Regions from separate parts of the Homo sapiens genome. Here regions 2 and 3 are each linked to region 1. Evidence: promoter capture Hi-C in human tissues and cell types (Jung and others, 2019). All regions are on one chromosome and are shown on one strand. Each heading gives the region's core, a stretch centred on a gene start or on the middle of the fragment in contact. The rest is flanking DNA. Distances are from core to core; before and after follow the strand shown.

The links. The method cuts DNA at HindIII sites, captures the fragments that hold promoters and counts their contacts. A contact is called where the count stands out against the background at its distance.
Region 2: a contact is called between a fragment that was not itself captured here and the fragment with the promoter of CAMKV in region 1, in 2 of the 25 tissues and cell types used here (IMR-90 fibroblasts and lymphoblastoid cells).
Region 3: a fragment that was not itself captured here is called in contact with the fragment with the promoter of CAMKV in region 1 in 1 of the 25 tissues and cell types used here (mesenchymal stem cells).

What each region holds. Positions count from the first base shown.
Region 1 is chr3:49,867,630-49,872,241 of GRCh38, reverse strand. It overlaps CAMKV (CaM kinase like vesicle associated), which reads left to right and starts at 2,336. Exons shown (of 11, transcript NM_024046.5): 1 at 2,336-2,484. RefSeq lists enhancers at 2,652-3,583, 3,584-4,516. The HindIII fragment of the contact is 8,966 bases long and covers 1-3,857 here.
Region 2 is chr3:50,036,530-50,041,141 of GRCh38, reverse strand. The region is part of intron 6 of RBM6 (RNA binding motif protein 6); the gene reads right to left. Among named protein-coding and RNA genes, the nearest start is that of RBM5, 50 kb to the left of the region's middle. The HindIII fragment of the contact is 5,977 bases long and covers 1-4,612 here.
Region 3 is chr3:50,011,761-50,016,372 of GRCh38, reverse strand. The region is part of intron 6 of RBM6 (RNA binding motif protein 6); the gene reads right to left. Among named protein-coding and RNA genes, the nearest start is that of RBM6, 74 kb to the right of the region's middle. RefSeq lists an enhancer at 2,880-3,548. The HindIII fragment of the contact is 3,634 bases long and covers 824-4,457 here.

The DNA of each region.
Region 1 (4,612 bases), core at 1,087-3,586:
CCTGGAAGAGCTAAGAGGATGGCATTCAGCTGATGTTACTATCTCCTGCCTGAAAGGCAGCTGGAGGTTGAAGCCAAAACATTGAAGCCGGTCCTACCCTGCCTGTGCCTTCCTGTCTAGGGGCTGAGGGATAAGCCATGGCTCAATCCTAGCCCTGGGTTCTTGTCTTCAGATTGCCCTCCACAAATGGCAAAGACTTGTCTATCTTCACATACACCAGAGATCAAGGGGCTGCTCTGGTGGGGAGCCTGAAAACAGCCAATGATGTAGGGTCAGCACAGACCCTGCCCACTGCTGGACATGGTCCAGCCCCCTTCCCATGTCCAGCTCTCAAAGCCTGATTCAGCCTCCACAATCCTGAGACTTGTGTCAGGCAGGAAGGGGACTGATAACTCCAGGGACCAGCTACAGCGTCCACACACACGTGCCAGCAAGCATGCCTGGGTGCACAAAGAATGCAGACACACGTGCCCCTGGGCACCACTGCATACACTGTGCTGTTGCATCTCCCTCGGCAAAAGAGAGCATACACAACACGTACACGTGTGCACACACACCCTGCCACGTGCTCTCACCCACATGCACAGAGCGTGCTTAGGACCAAGAAGAGGTGGAGTACTGCCAGCAGCAGGCAGGGCGCTAAGGAGCCACCCCTTCCCCTGCCTAAAAATCCCCATTCCAGCTTCTCATTGACCCCCATGCCTGGATAGCCATGACCCTCAGGAAAGACAGAAAACATGTATGTGGCATGTGTGGGGTCAGCAAGCTACAGCTTGGCTACACCATAAAACTCAGAGACCCATTGTTTCAAGAATAGTGGGCAGATGGCAGGAAGGACTCAGTGCCAGGCCATTCATTCATTCTGCAGACATCAGCCGAGCATACTGAGATGAGAAACGGGTTCTGCCTTGCAGATACCCAGCCTGCCAGGAGATTCCTACCCAGTGGTGGGGTGGGTCCCATAACCCGAGACCACTCAGAGCCCAGGGACCCCAGAAGTGGCACCAGCCTGGCCTAGAGGAGGTAACACCAAGCCAGGGAGGAAGGTGAAGGGCTCAGTACCCCCTCTGGAGGAAAATTTTGAGGAACCTTGTTTGAGGCGGTCATTTCCTAAGCTAGCCTTCAGTCTGAGCCCCAGCCCCAGCTTCTGGACTTGGACAGTCCCTCCTGTCATCAGCCATGGGTGGCCAGGGCAGCCTCAAGATGGCTGAGGGTTTGGGGATGACCCCAACTCCCTCTCCCACAGCAGGGTCAGGAGGCTCACTGGGAGGAGTGAGGTGGGATAAAACCCAGCTCCAGACACTGAGAGGCCTGAGTCTGGTCTTCAGATACTGGCCTTAGGATGGTCCTCAGGGCTTGTGAGGGGTGTGGGTCAGGCTTTGGGTCCGTGAGCCTCACTGACAAGGGACAGAGAAATGGCCAAGGACTTCCTTTAAAGCTTCCTCCTGGTGGTTCTGAGCCTCCTCCCTCTGATTAGCACCCAGGCCAGGTGGGATACCTTGGTGCCACAGTTCTCCTGTGTCCCCATATCCCAGGCCAGGCCACTAGAGTGATACAACTCATGAAGTGTTTGACAGTGATTAGACTGAAAAGAAAGCAGAGGCCACACCATGTCACAGGTGACTTTTATAGTTTGGGAAATTTGGTGCCACACAGGAAGGGGCTGACTGTGCTGCCACCCTTGCTGGTACTTATGTTTGGGAAAGACTCTGGCCTTGCAGGAGTTGGGGATGGGGTGGGATAGGAGACTTTGCTACTACAGTCTAGGGCCCTCACTGTTTTCACACTGACTACCTGCAAACACACACCTCTGTGTGTTTACTGCTCCTAGCTAGGGGATGCGTAGCTAGGGGATGCTAGGGGATGCCACACTGACTACCTGCAAACACACACCTCTGTGTGTTTACTGCTCCTAGCTAGGGGAGCCTGCCCTAGCCCGACTGCCCATCTGGTTTTTCTAAGTTGGTCCTGCCTTTTGGGTCGGGTTCGGGGAGCTGGGCAAAGCCCCGTTCCCTAGAGACTAATGACTGGCAAGCGATCCTATGCAGCTCCAGGACTCAGGCTTTCCCCCAACTCTCCACTCACCACCCCTTACATTGGGCATAGGAGGCCTCCTCCGGCCCCAGGCTGAGGGCCTAAGGGAGCCATTGAGAACCTTGGCCAGGGCTAAGCAGGCCAGTGCTCACCAGCACCGCTGCCATCCCGCGCGCTCCTGCTCTCCAGTGGGATTCTGCCCTTAAGGCTCCGCCAGGGTCGGGGCGGGGCCGGTTGGGAGGCCCCGCCCCCAGCCCGCCCCCGGCCCGGGGTGCGAATCCGGTGCCGGCAAGCGGCTGGCGATGCTGGAGGTTCGCTAGCCGAAGCGGCTGCATCTGGCGCCGCGTCTGCCCCGCGTGCTCGGAGCGGATTCTGCCCGCCGTCCCCGGAGCCCTCGGCGCCCCGCTGAGCCCGCGATCACTTCCTCCCTGTGACCAACCGGCGCTGCAGGTGCGGGGCGGGCCGGGCTGGGGGCGCTTCCCGAACGCAGGTTGTGGGGCCTTGGGGGATTGTTTCCCTGGCTCGAGGTGCGGGATGCAGAGTGCGCGGGGGCGCAGCGAGGGCTCGAGGTCCTGGCGGGGTCAGAGCGCGCGGGCTTTGCAGATTTGGGGGAGGGAGTGCGGGGTCGGGCTAAAGTTCCCCATTACCTCGGACGGCTTGGGGGTTCTGGGGGGAAGCTTCTGCGGCTCGGAATTGTGAAAAGATTAACCCTCGAAGATTCGTGGTCCCCCGTGAGGATAGGGGCCGAGAGCTGAGCCGTCCCTCCCCGTTCCCAGAGCCGCCTCCAGCCCCTCCCAACTGTCCCCGGGCCCCTTCCCTCCCGCTTAGCAGTCACTAATTTCCATGACAACGGAGAGTTCTTTATGGGCGACAACCCGGAGGGGGCTGGGCGGGGCTGCCGCGGGGTGGGGGAGGAAGCTCCAAGCCCCTGGGGACCAGCAGCCCCCCAGCCAAAATTCAGCTTCCAAGCCTTCACCTGGGTGCCAGCTGGGGGTCCAGTGCATGGACCCACGTGCACGGTGGGGGTGGGGGCGCACATGTTCCTGCTGGGAGGTGCGGGGCTTGGTGCTCACACGTGTGCTTTCCGCATGTGTGTTGCTGTGCCAGCGGGGGCGAGCCAGCAGCACTTGGGAAAGGGGTCAGGGTGGCAGCACGGTGGGGAGCAGGGCCCCTGGCTGGAGGTGGCTGGGATAGTGACAGCATGAGCTTCTGCCTTCCCCAGCTTGTACTGTTTGGCAGAGACCCTGGGCTCTTGAGCCCCAGCCCCCTCCCCGCATAGCTCTGCCAAATTGCTTTTGTCCGCACCTCCCAGGCAGATCCTGCTCCACCAGGTTCCTTCCTAAGGATCAGGGCCCTCTGTCCCACACTAAAAGCTCAGAGTCTGCAGTAGTCCAGTCCCTGTGCTGTACTCCCCTTACCCCCAAGTCCAGGCTTTGAGCCCCCAGGACTACCTTTAGAGACCTGGTGCCCTCCCCCACCCTCAGAGTTGATTCCTGGCAGCTCCAGCGACTTCTGAGCCTCAGTTTCCTCAACTGGGGAACTGGTGTCTCCACTCAGAGTCAGGTTGGTTTCCAGGGTGGGGCAAGGGTCTCCCTTTTCTAATATTTGGTGTGGACCCTTCAGGTGCTCTCCTAGGCTGGCTGTTCACATATCTCTGATGGCCCTACTCTCCAGCCCCATGCCCTGGCCACCATTCACAGGCAGGCAAGCAGTCCTCTGCCCTGGGAGAAGGCCAGATTCCATGGTTTCCATTAGGGGAAACTGAGGCATGGGGAGGTGAAGGGCTGTGTGGTTATCCTGTTTCTGGGTTGCTTGTGGTGCCGTTTCTGGCACTCATGGCAGGATCTGCTGTTGGGGGTTGGTGAGAGGGGATTAAGCAGAGCTGTAAGAGGGGCTCTGGGGACCCAAAGCCTGGAAAGGATAGCAGATGGGGGAGGGGTTGGCTGGGAGGGTCTAAGTACAGCTGGGCCAACTGAGAAGAGGGACTATAAAGGGAAGCAGCCAGGCATCCGAGCCTCATTTCCATACCCCTATGCGTCTGCCTTCAACATGTTGGACCTGCTTTACCTAAGCTGCCGTGATGGCAGAGAGACGGGCTGGGAACTGTCCTGACTGGGGGGCTGCAGCAGCTGGCCTCTTCCCCACCAACATGCTCCAAGGAGCTGGCCTCCTTTTGGCTGTGCCTCCTACACCAAGTTCAGTGTATGTTTGGGGGATACAGGAGGGTGCAGTCTCGAAGGTCCCAGTACCATGGATAGCTCCTGGCCCAGGGATTTAGAGCACATCGCCATGGAGGCCTTAGGGCTCTGCTGGGCACCCATCCGCCCCCTTCAGAACTCCCGTCCACCTCCCCTTTCCTGCCCTTTGTGCCTGTGTCCCTTTTACTTTGTCATCTCCTTGCTCCTCTTCCATCACAGGTTCTGTCTTTGTCTGTGTCTCTGCCCCATTCTCTTTTTTCTAAATTCTCTCCATCTCCCCACCTCCCCTTTCTTGATGGGGACCTGGGTCACAGAACCTTGAAGAAGCAGCCAGGCTAAGGTCTCAGGAAATTCTTGAAGAAGGGACCTGACCAACACAT
Region 2 (4,612 bases), core at 897-3,396, 170 kb before region 1:
AAGCACAACAAAAACTTTTACTAAAATGTTCTTGACAGCAAACGTTTTAGACTATATGACGCCAGCAACAACCAGCATCAAGCCAAAATCTTATTTGTGTTCTCTGAAGCAAAACGGCTGACTGTTTCACTGAGCCCCAGAGCCCCACCCACTAGGATCAGAGCTGGCAGAAGTCAGGGTCTCAAGATGAACTCTGCGGCTGGGCACAGTGGCTCACGCCTGTAACCCCAGCATTTGGGGAGGTCAAGGCAGGTGGATTGCTTGAGCTCAGGAGTTCGAGACCAGCCTGGGCAATGTGATAAAACCCCGCCTCTACAAAAAATACAAAATGGTAGTGTGCGCCTGTTATCCTAACTACTCCAGGGGCTGAGGTGGGAGGGTTGCTTGAACCTGTGAGGTCGAGGCTGCAGTGAGCCAAGCTCACGCCATTGCATTCCAGCCTGGGTGACAAAGTAAGACCCAATCTCAAAAAAAAAAAAAAGAATTCTGCTCTGGGAACACAATACACTCCAAGCCAGACCCTGACATAAGAAAATGTAAATATACACATATATATGTATATATCTATAGATATACATGTGTGTGTATATATATATGCATGTGTGTGTGTATATATATACACACGTGTGTGTGTGTGTGTGTGTGTGTATATATATATATATATATATATTTTTTTTTTTTTTTTTTTTTTTTTTTGAGAAGGAGCCTTGCTCTGTCACCCAGGCTGGAGTGCAGTGGTGCGATCTCAGCTCACTGCAAGCTCTGCCTCCCGGGTTCATGCAATTTTCCTGCCTCAGCCTCCCGAGTAGCTGGGACTACAGGCACCCATCACCACGCCTGGCTAATTTTTTGTATTTTTAGTAGAGATGGGGTTTCACCGTGTTAGCCAGGATGGTCTCGGTCTCCTGACCTCGTGAGCTGCCCACCTCGGCCTCCCAAAGTGTTGGGATTACAGGCGTGAGCCAGGGCACCCGGCCGAGAACTTAAATATTTTAAAGGTGTCTGGTGCTAAGAATATATTCCACCCACTTCACTACCACTCCTTGCAGGTCTTACATGCATTTTAAAGTAAGATTCAGGTTCTAGAAAATGCCTCCTATCATGATGAAAGAAAACCAGGGATCCGTAGTCTTGGAGGTAATTCCATGAACTTGGCTCCAGGAACATAGAAAGAACAGTGCCTACCAGGGGATCCACACGTCTCTCCTATTCTAAGGTTCCATTACATTTGTATTTGCGGCAAAAACAAAGAGGCAAAATATATAAATAAGCAAGTAAGTAAGTAATCAAAAGAGCCTCAAATCTTTTCTCTCCTTGTGAGAAGACAAGACTCTATCATAAAGACTGAGACTGTGAGGCAGACAGGGCATTCAACAAATTCCTTCATCACAGAATCTCCGTAGATTGCTTCTTACAATTTATAAACTCCAACTATTAGCACTCAGAACAACTGAAAAACTGAACCACTAAAATGCAGATTTTTAAAAAACTTTTCAGCTTGTTATAATTTTGTATCTTTTAGAGCAATGGTTCACCTAACATTTATAAAAACCTTAGTCAAAATTTCTCTGGTTAATAATTTATTTCCGTATGCTGGGTGCGGTGGCCCATGCCTGTAATCCCAGCACTTTGGGAGACCAAGGGTGGGGGGGGGGGGGGTGGATCACCTGAGGTCAGGAGTTCGAGACCAGCCTGGCCAACATGGTGAAACCCTGTCTCTACTACAAGTACAAAATTAGCTGGGTGTGGTAATGGGCGCTTCTAATCCCAGCTACTCGGGAGGCTGAGGCAGGAGCATCGCTTGAACCTGGGAGGTGGAGGTTGCAGCGAGCCGAGATTGTGTGATTGCACTCCAGCCTGGGTGAAAAGAGCGAGACTCCATCTCAAAATAAATAAATAAATAATAATAATTTATTTTCACACAAAGATATGGCCTAATTCTTGGTGGAAGTAAAATATCACATTTTGACATATTTTACTGATAATTCTCAGAATTCCCTTCAGAATTCAGAATTCTATAACCTCTATCTTATTTTTTTCCTCTTTCCTGAGTTGATTCCAATCACATAGCAATGAAATAAAAATACTCACAAAGTAGAATATGTACAGAAACAAGATACAGCTTGTTCTTTTCTGACAATTGAATCAGTTAACCCTAAAATAATTATGAGGTATGTAGGGCAAGGGCTTTTAGTCCCAGATAAAAGAGAGGCTCTCTCCTACTGCAATTAGGGACATCCCCCACCTCAACACAGAGTGAAGGGCAGCTGATTTACATCATTTCTTTTCTTCTTTTTCTTCTTTTTTTGGGGACGGAGTCTTGCTCTGTTGCCTAGGCTGGAGTGCAGTGGCGCGATCTCGGCTCACTGCAAGCTCTTCCTCCTGGGTTCACGCCATTCTCCTGTCTCAGCCTCCTGAGTAGTTGGGACTACAGGTGCCGGCCACCACACCTGGCTGATTTTTTTTGTATTTTTAGTAGAGACGGGGTTTCACCCTGTTAGCCAGGATGTTCTCGATCTCCGGACCTCATGATCCGCCCGCCTCGGCCTCCCAAAGTGCTGGGATTACAGGCGTGAGCCCCTGTACCCGGCCTGATTTACATCATTTCTATAACACTTTTATATTCTGAGATGACTACTATTGGAGCTCCCTGGCTCTTTTCTTCTGGAAAAAGTAGACTCTAAATTCAACATCAAGGCATGCTTCATTGAATAGGTCTCTAAACTGAATCACTATAGAGAAAAACAAATAGGGAGTTTGGTAAATAAATGTGGAAAATATAAAGCTTCTTAATTTGCTTTGTTTACCAAAGAATATAATAAAACTATTCCTTTTTCTTAAAAACTTAATGGCAGGAGGTGGTAGAGAACAGCCAAGAGAGCAGACTGAGGCCCACAAGACCTAAGATACTGTACAGGCCTCACTGCTGAGCCCATCACAAAGCCTGCACAGTATTCCCCAGGCATCCCCAAAGAACCAGCAGCTATTCTTCAGGATCCACCATCCAAAAGAGACATTGGAACCGGCAGCGGTGGCTCACACCTGTAATCCCAGCACTTTGGGAGGCTGAGGCGGGTGGATCACCTGAGGTCAGGAGTTCAAGACCAGCCTGGCCAACATGGTGAAATCCCATCTCTACTAAAAATACAAAAATTACCCGGGCATGGTGGCGGGCGCCTGTAATCCCAGCTACTCAGGAGGCTGAGGCAAGAGAATCACCTGAACCTGGGAGGTGGAGGGTGCAGTGAACCAAGATCGTGCCACCACACTCCAGCCTGGGCAACAAGAGCAAAACTCTGTCTCAAAAAAAAAAAAAAAAAAAGGAAAGAAAAGAAATTTGCCACGCATGGTGGCTCATGTCTATAATCCCTACACTTTAGAAGGTCAAGGTGGGAGAACTGCTTGAACCCAGGAGCTCGAGACCAGACCAGCTCAGGGAACACAGTGAGACCCCATCTCCATTGCTATTAAAACAAAATTTTTTAATGGGAAAAAAAATAAAAAGAGACATTATTTCTACTGACCCTTTATCTATCACCTCCCACCCAAGTACTTGAGCTTCCTCAAAGGTATCTTTAGCCCCTCTGCCTGTAACGTCCTCAAAGAGTCTTGCTGACTTGATTTCTGCAGAAATAGTGCCTTGAAAATATTAATAAAATACAGAGCCTCTGGACTTCTGAATACATACTGTTCAACTAATATTTTAGGGAGGTGACTATGCCCCCCTGCTTTTTTTGAGACAGGGTCTTGCTCTGTCACTCAGGCTAGAGTGCACTGGTGTTGTATGATCATAGCTCATTGTAGCCTTGATCTCCTGAGCTCAAGCAATCATCCCACCTCAGCTTCCTGACAAGCTGGGACAATACGTGCATGTCACCAAGTCTGGCTAATTTATTTTATTTTATGCAGACATGGGGTCTTCCTATGATGCCCCGGCTGGTCTTGAACTCCTGGGCTCAAATGATCCTCCTGCCACAGCCTCCCAAAGGGCTGGAATTACAGGTGTTAGCCATCATGCCCAGCCAATTCTCTTCTTAGGCAGAAAGCTATTGACCCAATGCCACTTAGAAGTACCAAGACTAAGAATGGAAGCTTTTTGGGAGGCCAAGGTGGATGGATCACGAGGTCAAGAGATCGAGACCATACTGGCCAACATGGTGAAGCCCCGTCTCTACTAAAAATTAAAAAAAAAATTAGCTGGGCATGGTGGCATGAGCCTGTAGTCCCAATTACTTGGGAGGCTGAGGCAGGAGAATCACTTGAACCCAGGAGGCGGAGGCTGCAGTGAGCCAAGATCGCGCCACTGCACTCTAGCCTCGCGACAGAGCAAGACTCCCATCTCCAAAAAAAAAGAAAGGAAGCTTTAAGTCAGAAAAGGTTCACTGGGATACATGGGATACAAGGTTAGGTCCCTAATCCTTTTTGTTCTACTTATTTTCACAAGCAAATAACACAAAGAATTATCAAACTTCAGCCCTTGATAAAAATGAGGGCTGGCTTCTAACATTGAAGACATGCTATGGTTAAATTAGCCAATATTTGGAAAGCAGCATTTACTGAGCTATAATATCATGGCTGCTACAATATAATGGCTATAATATCTTAACTTTTT
Region 3 (4,612 bases), core at 1,391-3,890, 140 kb before region 1:
TGATATCCATTCATCCATTGCCCATCAATGAATGAATGGATAATGAAAATGTGGTATGTAAGCACAATGAAATACTATTTGGCCTTAAAAAAGAAGGAAATTCTGCCATTTGCGACATGTGGAAAAACATGAAGGACACTTAGCTAAGTGTATTATAAACTAGGTACAGAAAGACAAATACTGCATGATCTCACATGTGCAATCTAAAAAAATCAAATATTCAGACAGAAGTAGAGAGCAGAATGGTGGTTTACCAGAGGCCGTGGGTGGAGAAGGCGGGTGGAGGAGAACGGGAGAATGTTAGTCAAAGAGTATAAAGTTTCAGTCAGACAGGAGGAAGAAGTTTTAGTTATCTATTGCACAGCATGGTGACTATAGTTAATAACAATGTATTGTATCTATTTCAAAATTGCTAAAAGAGATTTTAAATGTTCTCACTACAAAGAAATAACTACATGAGGTGATGGATATGTTAACTAGTCTGATTCAATCATTCTACAATGTACACATGTATCATAACGTGGGTACTCCATAAACGTATACAATTATCAATTAAAAATTATTCTACAATGTGCACATGTATCATAACATGGGTACTCCATAAACATGTACAATTATCAATTAAAAATAAAATAAAAATTGGCCGGGAGCGGTGGCTCACGCCTGTAATCCCAGCACTTTGGGAGGCTGAGGCAGGTGGATCACGAGGTCAGGAGATGGAGACCATCCTGGCTAACATGGTGAAACCCCGCCTCTACTAAAAAAATTCAAAAAATTAGCCGGGCGTGGTGGCACGCGCCTGTAGTCCCAGCTACTCAGGAGGCTGAGGCAGGAGAATGGCATGAACCCAGGAGGCGGAGCTTGCAGTGATCCGAGATCGCGCCACTGCACTCCAGCCTGGGCAACAGAGCGAGGCTCCATCTCAAAAAAAAAAAAAAAAATAATAATAATAATAAAATAAAAATTTTGCCAGGCACAGTGGCTCATGCTTGTAATCCCAGCACTTTGGGAGGCTGAGGCGGGCAGACCATAAGGTCAGGAGTTTGAGACCAGCCTGGCCAATATGGTGAAACCCCGCCTCTGCTAAAAATACAAAAATTAGCCGGGCGTGGTGGTGGGTACCTGTAGTCCCAGCTACTTGGGAGGCTGAAGCAGGACAACCACTTGAACCTGGCAGGCGGGGGGTTGCAGTGAGCCAAGATGGTGCTACTGCACTCCAGCTTGGGTGACAGAGCGTGACTCTGTCTCAAAAGAAAAAAAAGTAAAAAAGAAATAAAACAAAAAATTTAAAAATAAAAAACTTTTTTTTTTTTTTTTTTTTTTTTTGAGACAGTCTCACTCTGTTGGCCAGGCTGGAGTACAGTGGCGTGATCTCGGCTCACCGCAACCTCCACCTTCTGGGTTCAAGCAATTCTTGTGCCTCAGCCTCCTGAGTAGCTGGGACTGCAGGTGTACGCCACCATGCCTGGCTAATTTTTGTATTGTTTTTTCATTCATTAATGAACACATATTACCTAGCACAGAGCTTCAAACACAAGAGGTGCTCAGCACTTAACTGTGTTAACAAAAGTTAAAATGAGTTGCTTACTGATATTTCCAATGTGATTCCCAACAGCCCAATCACTATTACACAGCATTCTATATACACAGCAGCTCCCCTTCACAGCAAAGTGATATTGTATTAAGATAAAATATATGCATCTTTTACTTTGAGGTCAGTCCCCTTAACTATATCAGCATACAGGATCCAGTAGATGGCCCTGTGAAGTAAAGCCTAATGAAAAGATGATCCAATAGATTCAAATGTTTTAATCAGTATAAAGAAGGATGTGAAAATCTGCACTTGCATTTTCAATATTCCCTGGAAAACTATCTGAAATATGAAGTAACATCTATTTTGAAAACTCTCAACTTGTTTGTTTTTTCTAGTAATTGCTGCCAAATATGTGTAATCTTCTGACTACTCCCTCATTCTGCTGGATGACAGACTACCTTAGTGATAGTATATTTTAAGAATGTTTATTACCTTTGATTATTTAAAGAACTTATTCTGGTCCACATATCAAAATAGGTCTTATTCTACAGCTCCTACCCCAAGGACACAGGCTAAGCTCGTGACTGGTAGTCTGGAGTGCCGTGCCTGCACTCTCACTACACAGCATTCCCACTATATTCCCAAACCCCCTTGCCAATCCTCACTCTGTTGGGACCAGGAATAAGGCAAGGAAAGAGATAACTGATTATTATAAGACAATCCACGGCAAGCCAGGTCATCCTTTCTGACTAACCACAACTCTTGTCTCCTTACACCAGTATTTTTCAACCTCAGCAATAGAGATTTTTGGGCCAGATGATTCTTTGTGTGGAGAGCTGCCCTTTGCACTGTAGGATGTTTAGCAGCATCCCTGGCTCTATTCACTAGATACCAGTAGCACCCTCTCCCAGTGGTGACAACCAAAAATGTCTCCAGACATTGCCAAATGTCCAGTGGTTGGGGAGGAGAAGAGCATGTCAAAAATCACTGCTTGAAGCCCCTGTTTAAGAGCCACTGCCTGACGAATAACATTATTAAGGCCACTCAGGAAAGTTTGCTTCCCCTTTGCCATGGTTGCTGCTGCTTCTCAGTCTAAAGCTGACTAGCACATAGTCCCTCCTCTTTTTGTATCAGGCATCCAAATGCCCGCTGTCTCATGGAAGAACATATTTTTGAGACAGAGCCTCGCTGTCGCCAGGCTGGAGTGCAGTGGTGAAATCTGGGCTCACTGCAACCTCCACCTCCAGGGTTCAAGCGATTATCCTGCTCCAGCCTCCCGAGTAGCTGGGACTACAGACATGTGCCACCATGCCCAGCTAATTTTTGTATTTTTAGTAGAGATGGGGTTTCACCACGAGGCCAGGATGGTCTTGATCTCTTGACCTCGTGATCCGCCTCCCTCGGCCTCTGAAAGTGCTGGGATTACAGGTGTGAGCCACCGCGTTCGGCCTATTCACTGTTTTTTTTAAAAGACCTATAAAAACCTCACAGTGCCCAGGAGTAGAAGCTTTAGATGTTGCCCTACTTCTTGACCTCCAACCCCAGCACCTGACAAAGCCCAGTGGGGGACCTCTTGGAGACACCGACAAAGTAAATCCCAATCGCCTTCCACATACATCATCCACTCAACCCAATGGAAATTCACACACCATCCACAGCATCCATTAAGCACCTCCATCCAACCTCAAAGGAAGAGTCTGGTGGGAGGTCAAGTCAAATGATGTCCCTTTTTCAATGAGAATAGATCATAACTATTCAAAAATCTGCATTCAAATGTGCTAAGAAGAATCTGGGTGGGCCTGGCACGGTGGCTCACGCCTGTAATCCCAGCACTTTAGGAGGCCCAGGTGGTCAGATCACCTGAGGTCGGGAGTTCAATACCAGCCTGACCAACATGGAGGAACCTGGTCTCCACTAAAAAATATAAAATTAGCCAGGCGTGGTGGCGCATGGCTGTAATCCCAATTACTTGGGAGGCTGAGGCAGGAGAATTGCTTGAACCCGGGACGGGGAGGTTGTGGTGAGCCGAGATTGCGCCATTGCACTCCAGCCTGGGAAACAAGAGCAAAACTCCGCCTCAAAAAAAAAAAAAAAAAAAAAGGTAGAATCTAGGTGAAAAGAACACAGGAATTTTTGCAGCTTTTTTATAAGTCTGAAATCACTTTTGTAAAAAATTGGAATGGGCCAGGCACGGTGGCTCACGCCTGTAATCTCAGCACTTTGGGAGGCTGAGACGGGCGGATCACAGGGTCAGGAGATTGAGACCATCCTGGCTAACACGGTGAAACCCCGTCTCTACTACAAATACAAAAACTTAGCCGGGCGTGGTGGCAGGCACCTGTAGTCCCAGCTACTCGGGAGGCTGAGGCAGGAGAATGGCGTGAACCCGGGAGGTGGAGGTTGCAGTGAGCTGAGATCACGCCACTGCACTCCAGCCTGGGCGACAGAGTGAGGCTCTATCTCAAAAAAAAAGAAAAAAAAAATTGGAATGGACTGGGCATGGTGGTTCATGCCTGTAATCCCAGCACTTCGGGAAACCAAGGTGGGAGGATCACTTGAAACCAGGAGTTCAAGACCACCTTGGCAATAGATTGAGACCTCGTCTCTAAAAAAAATAAAAATTAAAAAATTAAAAATGTAAATGTATCCCCAAACGGGGATCCGATTGAGGTAATGAAAATGTTCTAGACCAGGCATGATGGTTCACACCTGTAATCCCAGCACTTTGGGAAGGTGAGGCAGGAAGGATTGCTTGAGTTTAGAAGTTCAAGACCAACCTGGACAATATAGCAAGACCTTCTCTCTACAAAAAATAAAAAATTAGCTGGGCACGATGGTTCCAACTTATAGTTCCAGCTACTCAGGAGGTTGAGGTGGGAGAATTGCTTGAGCCCGGGAGGTGGAGGCTGCAGTGAGCCATGGTCATGCCACTGCACTCAGCTTGGGCAACAGAGCAAGATCCTGTGTCCCAGAAAAAAAGAAAAAGAAAAAAAAAAAAAGAAAGAAAAGAAAAATGTTGTAAAACTAATTATAATAATAAATGTTACAACTTGGTAAATTTACTAAAAAATCATTGAA